2 separate regions of the Homo sapiens genome follow, and region 1 is linked to region 2. The links are contacts of gene promoters, found by promoter capture Hi-C in human tissues and cell types (Jung and others, 2019). All regions are on one chromosome and are shown on one strand. The core of a region is centred on a gene start or on the middle of the fragment in contact, and the rest is flanking DNA. Distances in the headings are between cores, read along the strand shown. Region 1 overlaps SLC31A1 (solute carrier family 31 member 1). Region 2 holds the start of WDR31 (WD repeat domain 31).

What was found. Contacts are between HindIII fragments. The study calls those that stand out against the background at their distance.
Region 1: a fragment that was not itself captured here is called in contact with the fragment with the promoter of WDR31 in region 2 in 2 of the 25 tissues and cell types used here (bladder and pancreas).

Annotation. Positions count from the first base shown.
Region 1 is chr9:113,226,957-113,231,233 of GRCh38, reverse strand. All of the region lies in intron 1 of SLC31A1 (solute carrier family 31 member 1), which reads right to left. Among named protein-coding and RNA genes, the nearest start is that of SLC31A1, 7.6 kb to the right of the region's middle. The HindIII fragment of the contact is 3,999 bases long and covers 925-4,277 here.
Region 2 is chr9:113,337,739-113,341,860 of GRCh38, reverse strand. WDR31 (WD repeat domain 31) reads left to right here and starts at 1,586. Exons shown (of 11, transcript NM_001012361.4): 1 at 1,586-1,644. RefSeq lists a silencer at 1,577-1,816. The HindIII fragment of the contact is 4,545 bases long and covers 1-1,979 here.

The DNA.
Region 1 (4,277 bases), core at 1,675-4,174, 110 kb after region 2:
TAGGTGTGTGTGCGCATTTACTTAAACATAGGCAGACACAGACTCCTCTTCAAGATAATTTACTTGGTCTCTTGTCCTTTCCTGAACCAAATTAAGCATGCAAAGGGATGGCTTGATAGGTGTGTCAAGGCTGAGCAGGGAAAAGGAAGGATATGGCACTTGAGAGGGGAGCAAAGTGAGGTCAGATCACTTTGACATCTACCTCAATTCAACTCAACAAGTATTATGAAGTACCCTCTGCCCCAGAGGCTATAGGGAATTCAGAGATGGAAAGGATGGAGGCTCTGGCTTAAACTTGCTATTGAACAGGGAAAATTTCACAAATGGCTTATTGTACCTAGAAAGAGAATGAGGGAGGTGAGATGGGGAGAAAAGAAAAGTTAGTAGGTTATAGTCAAGAAAGCATGAGGGGCTGATACAATTCTGATCTGCTTTATGGTCCCTAGCTTCCCCAAAAGACTAGTGACTATAGTAAACAATGTTATTGTGGCTATTTCAAAATATCTAGAAGAGAGAATTCTGAATGTTCTTACCATAAAGAAATGATAAATGTTTGAGGTGATGTATACGCTAAACACCATCGTTTGATCATTATGCAATTTATATACGTATTAAAATATCACACTGTACCCCATAAATATGTACAATTATTATGTATTAATTAAAAACAAAACAGGCAGGGTACAGTGGCTCATGCCTATAATCCCAGAACTTTGGGAGGCTGAGGTGGAAGGATCTCTTGAGTCCAGGAGTTCAAGACCAGCCCGGGCAACATAGTGAGGCCTTGTCTCCTCAAAAAATCAAGAAAAGTAGCCAGGCGTGGAGATGCATGCCTGTAGTCTCAGCTATAGGCTGAGGCCATAGGATCTACTTTTGTACTACTTTGGTAGGCTGAGGCAGGAGGATAGCCTGAGCCAGGGAGGTTGAGGCTGCAGTGAGCTGAGATCGCGCCACCGCACTCCAGCCTGGGCGACAGACCAAGACTCTGTCTCTCAAACAAACGAACAAACAAACAAATCCCCAAAAGATTAGTAATTGTTATGGTATCATACACTTTGTAAAGTTATCACACACCTCATAACCATCCAAAAATTTGGGAAGACAGTAAAACACAGACAGAGGCAGATATTTGTTAGGCTCTCTTTGTTTCATCTTTCCATCTTCACTCCCTACATAAATTGTAATAAAGAGCAAATCTTCTGAATCCTCTACTTGGTAAATGCTAGTAAACATAGTTGGGAGACAGTCTCCTTTTGTTCTGAGTTTATAATATTCACCTTGCAAATAGCTTGAATAGTATTATACTGAAAAGCAATAGAAAAATCTACAAGACCATGATGCAGGTGACTTTAGTGAAGTCTGCAATTCAACATAATTTTGGAGAGATTACCTATTCTTGGCTCTTACTTAAGACTTAGTTCTGAATAGTAAGAGATAAAAATTAAGATATTACCAAGAAAATGATACTTTTTCTTTTCCACTAATCATTTTCAGTTAAAGTCTCATAGAAGATCAAAACTAGAACAGTCATCAGTCTGCCCACATTCTTTAACACAGTAATCCCACTTCTAAATATTCATTCTACAGATAAACTGGCACATATGTGAAATGTGTATGTACAAAGTTACTTATAACAGGAGTGTTTGTAATAGCAAAATATTAAAAATACAACCTAAATGTTCATTGATAGGGCACTGATTAAATGAGTTATCATATTTTCATACAATGGAATACTTAGCAGAATAAGAATGAGAACGATCATATATATTGATATAGAATGATCTGTAAGACGTATTATGAAATGAAATAAAAGCAGAATATACTGTATGCTATAATTTGTAAAAAACTTAAAAAGGAAACAGAGTATGTTCATGTTATTTTTATACACCTATACTATCTGCAGGGGAGTTGGGGGGAAACAACAAAGTTGTTGGTTGAGCCTGGGAGGCAAAATAGGACCGTGGTCCCTAAGGAGAGCTGGTCAGAAGTGGGTAGGAGTAAATGAAATACTTTTCACTGAATATCCTTGTGTACTTTTTGAATTACAAACCATATGAATATATTTCCTATTTAAAAAATTAAATTATCAGTCAGGCGCAGTGGATCACGCCTATAATCCCAGCACTTTGGGAGGCCATGGCGGGCGGATCACCTGAGGTCAGGAGTTCAAGACCAGCCTGACCAACATGGAGAAACGCCATCTCTACTAAAAATATAAAATCAGCCGGTCGTGGTGGCACATGCCTGTAATCCCAGATACTAGGGAGGCTAAGGCAGGAGAATCACTTGAACCCAGGAGGCAGAGGTTGCAATGAGCCGAGATCACACTATTGCACTTCAGCCTGGGCAACAAGAGCGAAACTCCAACTCAAAAGAAAAAAAAAAGTATCATCAAATCCAACTCCTTTATTTTACAGATGTGGAAACTGAGGCTTATGTTATTAAATGATGACACTAACATTCTTTAGTTAGGTGAATCCATAACATCTGCTTCTGATAGAAGGCTCCATAACACTAGACTAACCGCTTTCTCCAGCCCCATTTCTCCGGATGGCTTGCTGGGAAGCAGCTAAGCAGGATGGGTTTCTGAGCTTTACATATCCTGTTCTGGTGGCAAATAACATAGAAGCTCCTATTTCTCTTGCCCACTCCCACCCTTCTGTACAAAGAAGATCAAGTGTACAACTACATTCTTCCAAAGGCCTTTACAAAAGCTTTTATTTGCCTGGTTCTAATAGGACAACTCAAATTTGATATGTCAAACAAACAAACTGAAAAGGTCTTTTAGTTATGTAATGATAACAGGGCCTAAGTCCAATGGGGAGTGGATCTCCCAGCTACTTTACTCCATTTCTGTGATACCTTTTGTTGTTGGGTAAGCCACATCCTGGAATAATGTAATCACATGATGCACCCTTTCATGCTCCTCTTACAGGATCCTTTTGTAGCCTTGACGCACTTCCAGTCCGCTAACTGTGCTTTAGTATGATTTATGTGACAATTTCAGTGTTTTCTAGATAGTATCTTAGAGTGGAGAAAGCATGCAGCACGAGGCATCAAAGGCTCTGAGCTCTGGACCCACATTTGCCATATACTAGCCATGTGACATTAGGCAAATCACCAAAATTTGCAAAATTTGCAAAACAGATATTAAAATACCTACGCTGCCAATCTCATAGTATTGTAAGGGTCAAATAAAATATGTTAAATACTTTCCAATTTTAAGGTACAGTAAATATGAAATATAATAGCTTGCTTGCTCATTAGATGACAAAATTAATCTCTGAAAGGAACTAAGTCACACATAAGGCTCACTTTCATGTTTCTTGAAGTATACAGCCTTTCACAGTTTGATTTAAACAAAACTAGCTAGTCAGACAAATATACATTGGCAAAGCATTGCTTTAACTGCTTTATTGTTATAATCAAATGTAGACAATGGTCCTCCTTGTCTAAACTTTGCTTTAGTTATATTACATAGCATTTAAACTGTTTGGATAATAATGTTGTTGGTTTGCCTATGAGTAATATTGGAAATTAATATGGCATAAGACAGAAACTAGAAAACATTTGAACTGTTCCCTTTTTTTTATTCAGTAGGAAAATGCAATTAAATATGTTACACAAGATAAAAGGAACTTGAATGATTTAATGAAAATGCAGTACAAGAATGCAAATGAGGCTGGACATGGTGGCTCATGCCTGTAATCCCAGCACTCTAAGAGGCCAAGGTGGGCAGACTGCTTAAGCTCAGGAGTTTGAGACCAGCCTGGGCAACATGGCAAAGCCCCGACTCTATCAAAAATACAAAAAATTAGCTGGGCGTGGTGGTGCATGCCTGTAGTCCCGGCTACTCGAAAGGCTGAGATGGGAAGATTGCTTGAGCCTGGGAGACAGAGGTTGCAGTGAGCTGAGATTGTGCTCCTGCACTCCAGCCTGGGCAACAAAGCAAGATCCTGTTTCAAGAAAAAATAAAAGAAAAAAGAAAAAAATTGTTCAATATCTCAGATAGAGGCTGTATGGTGTGGCAGTAAAAGTACTGGGCTAGGAACTGAAAGAGGTTCTACATCTGCATTCTAGATCTGGCTCTTAGGTCTCATTTGCTATGCAATTTCAAGGAACTCAGACTATTCTTTCACTATTTATTGCATACCTATCGAATGAAGGTACCATGATGAAACTCTAACCATAAGAAACCCATTCTGGTGAAAGAGGGACACATGTAAATAATTTAAAAATAATGTAAAATGTACTAAGGTATAGATTATGCATAGGGG
Region 2 (4,122 bases), core at 337-2,836:
AAACTGCCAGTTGCAGATGGGCGGGTGGCAGGTGGATATACAGGTCCGACTCAGGGAGAGGCCTGGCTACAGGTACCAGTTTGGGAGTCTTTCGTGCCTGAAGCCTAAAGCCTCTCTCTCAGAGGGAAAAACATCCCCAGAGCAGGAACATCTTGGGTGCAGAGATCTAGTAACTCACCTCTGTAGCTGCACTGAGCCTAGCCCAGTGTCCCAGGACAAAGCAGTGAGTCTATCCTGGTTGTAGCTTGCCAGGCTGTTGTGGGGGAAAGGGATTAAGTCTGTAAGGAGAGCCATTGGTTCTGAGCGAAGATCAGAGTTTCAAGTGGCATACGGGTAGATACTTTCTCCTGCCAGAAGGAAATCTCCCAACAATAGGTCACTAGCTTAGAAAGTAATCAGCCCATCATTACAGAGTGAGCATCAACTAGGGCTACAGATACTTCATCAGGGATGCCATGGAGGGGATCCCTTCCCTGGACTGGAAAACAGACCCAATAGCCAGTATGTGGAGGCAAACTTCTCTCACCATTCCCACCCCCTCAAAGGCACCCAATTTTCAGAAACTCCACAAATCTTCATTGAAGGCTGTTTTGCCAGATCAACACTGCAGAGGCACCTACTAGGGTTCAAAATAAATGTTGGGGCCGGGCGCGGAGGCTCATGCCTGTAATCCCAGCACTTTTGGAGGCTGTGGCAGGTGGATCACCTGAGATCAGGAGTTCGAGACCAGCCTGGCCAACATGATGAAACCCCATCTCTACTAAAAATACAAGAATTAGCCGGGCATGGAGGCGCGCACTTGTAGTCCCAGCTACTTGGGAGGCTGAGGCAGGAGAATCGCTTGAACCTGGGAGGCAGAGGTTGCAGTGAGCCGAGATCGCGCGACTGCACTTCAGCCTGGACGACAGAGCAAGACTCCGTCTTAAAAATAAATAAATGTTGGCTAGGATCCCTGCCATTGATTCATTCAACAAACATTCAACAAGCCCCTACTATATACCAAGCCCCATACTGTGCACCAGGAATACGGAGATGAATAGACTCTAGTCTGGTAGCAATGCGACCGCAGCTGTAAAAACTGTGTTTCTACAACTGTCTTCCCATTTGGATCTCAAGAAGGTACTGAGGGGTCTCTTCTTGCTATGGTACTAGGCTGTAATGGTTCAATGAAAAAAAAAAAACGAAAGGAATAGAGGAGTGGGGAGCTGGGGGAGTGTCCAAAGGAGGAATTTCTAGTCGAAATCAGGGAAACTCCAAAGAAATACGGCAACACGTATGTCTGAGCGACCAATAATTTAAAAGATGACCTTTATTAAGTGCTTTCTCCATAGCTATTACAAAGGTACCCGTTTTGCTTGGATTGTCTAGATTCTTCTGGCAGCGGAGTCCTGGGCACAAGCGTCCTCTCCTCTGGACCTGATCACGAAGAGAGTAGCGCCGGGCGCTCAGTTCCCGTCCCAGCTTTAGGCGAACGGAACTGCGGTTCGGCGGCCTGCGAGGGTGCCCGGAGGCTTTTCTCCAGCACTCCCGCCCTAGCAACGTGCGCCTGCTGCTAGGGGCGGAGGCGCGGGAGGGCTCGGAGGCTGTTCCCACCCCCAGGCTCCGCGTTCCCGCCGGCCCCAGCTCCAGCCCCGCAGCCCACCGGTGGGTACTGAGCCTGAGGTGGGAGAAAGGGGCATAGCGGCAGACTAGGAGCGGGCAACCCTCGCCCTTTGGTCGAAGCGGAGAGCGGTTATGAGGGCCAACCTTGGGCTGGGTGGCGCTAGGTTCCCATCTTCGGGGACTCTTCTCCCCGCTTTCCACATACACATAAAAAATAAGCTTTAGGCCGGGCGCGGTGGCTCACGCCTGGAATCCTAGCACTGTGGGAGGCCGAGGCGGGTGGATTGCCTGAGCTCAGGAGTTCGAGACCATCCTGGGCAACACAGTGAAACCCTGTCTCTACTAAAATACAAAAAATTAGCCGGGAGTGGTGCCGTGCGCCTGTAGCTACTTGGGAAGCTGAAGCAGGAGAACTGCTAGAACCCGGGAGGCGGAGGTTGCAGTGAGCCGAGATCGCGCCACTGCACTCCAGCCTGGGTGACAGAGCGAGACTCGAGACTCCGTCTCTTGAAAACAAAAACAAAAACAAATTAAGCTTTAGTTGTTCATATAATGGGCAGGGAGAGGAGCATTTGCCATCTGAAGCGACAGAAAGGAAAAACTGCACACAAGTCGTCCCCAAAATTTGAGGCAACCGTGAGAGTGGTGGCCTAGAACTGGCTCCCTGTGTGACTCTAGGCAAGACCCTCTTATTCCCTGGGCCTCGGTTTCCCCTATCTGTACCATTAGAGGGTCGAACCAGACCAGCTTCCAGGTGTTTCTACTCATACTTTTCTTTCTTTGAGCATTGTTTTGGCGACTAAAGATGCCTTGGTCTCCCAGAGTGTAAGACAGAAGTGTGCAGAGGGAGATTTGGGGAGACGGAGGGAGATAAGATATCAGCATTTGCATTAACGGGACCAGGGAAATAAGGTCCAGTCCACCCGGCTCTGCCCCTGTGACCTTCAGCAAGTCACAGCCCTCTGAGTCCCAGTTTCTTCATGGAATAGAACAGTCGGATAGGTACTGGTGTATATCAAGGAATATTGCACTGGAGAGTTAAAAGAGAATTCTCTGCTTTCTGTTTAGGGTGGTTTAGAGTGACTACTGGATATCCCAAGGCCTTTGGAAAGCAGATTGGAATAGAAAGAAGTGATGGGATTCAGACCGAGGCCTGGTTCCAACTGGAACCAACAGGGACATCCAGAGCCATAACTGAATCTGTAGATTTTCCCATGTCCTCTCCAGCCTTTCTGGGTCTGGAGCCTGGGATGAAACAGGGTGACTGCTCTCTAAGGGATATGTTGTTGGGCAGGTTAAAAGGGCGCTTATGTTGTTGGGTCCCTAAAAAGTGTACCACTGGGCCGGGCACGGTGGCTCACACCTGTAATCCCAGCATTTTGGGAGGCCAAGGTGGGCGGATCAACTGAGATCGGGAGTTCGAGACCAGCCTGACTAATATGGAGAAATCCTGTCTCTACTAAAAACACAAAATTAGCTGGGCGTGGTGGCAGGCGCCTGTAATCCCAGCTACTCAGGAAGCTGAGGCTGGAGAATCGCTTGAACCTGGGAGGTGGAGGTTGTGATGAGCTGAGATGGTGCCATTGCACTCCAGCCTGGGCAACAAGAGAGAAACTCCATCTCAGAAAAAAAAAAAAAAAATAGCGTACCACCAAGCCGACTCTTCATCTTAGTATTCCATTCACTCATTCAACAGGTATTTATTTGCCTTGCGTTCATTCTCCTAGGCTAAGGTCAAATCATAGATACAAAAATGAACCAGAAATTATACCTCCTCTCAAGTATATTACATGTTCCTAATAAAAATAGTGGAAGATAACTTAGTAGTACTTTTATTTCTTATTCTACTCATGATAAATTACAACAACGTAGATATAACCCAAATTCATATACTTTGTTCTTGAGACTTTTTAATTGCCTTGCTATGTAACATAATGAATTCTTAGCTTTATTGGGTCCAATCACTCTGATCAGAGGCCATAATTTGCTTCAGCTTTAATATCCTCTAGATTCATATATCCGTTTGTATGTGTTCTCTGTGTATATTTGTGCATTAATATTTGTGCATTATGAACAGTATTAACAAGGGTGAAAATGCTGCTTCCAGTATGATCACTGTTAATCTTGCAATCATGCTAGTAACCATAATTTATTGTTAACAACTTGCCAGATTGAACCAAAAGCTTTATATGCACCAGCTTTTGTAGAGATGCAGTATAATATGCTGGTCAAGAACAGGGCCTCTGGAGTTGGACTGCCTGGATTCAAGTTTCAGCTCTGCCACTTATTTGCAGTATAAACTTGAGCAAACTATTTGATATCTCTGTGCCTCACTTTTCACATCTGCAAAATGGCCATACAGGTTGAGTATCCCTTATCTGAAATGTTTGGGACCAGAAGTGTTTCAAATTTCAGATTTTAGAATATTTGCATTATATACTTAAGGGTTGAGCATCCCTAATGGAAAACCTGAAATCCAAAATGCTCCGATGTGGCTGGGCACGGTGGCTCATGCCTGTA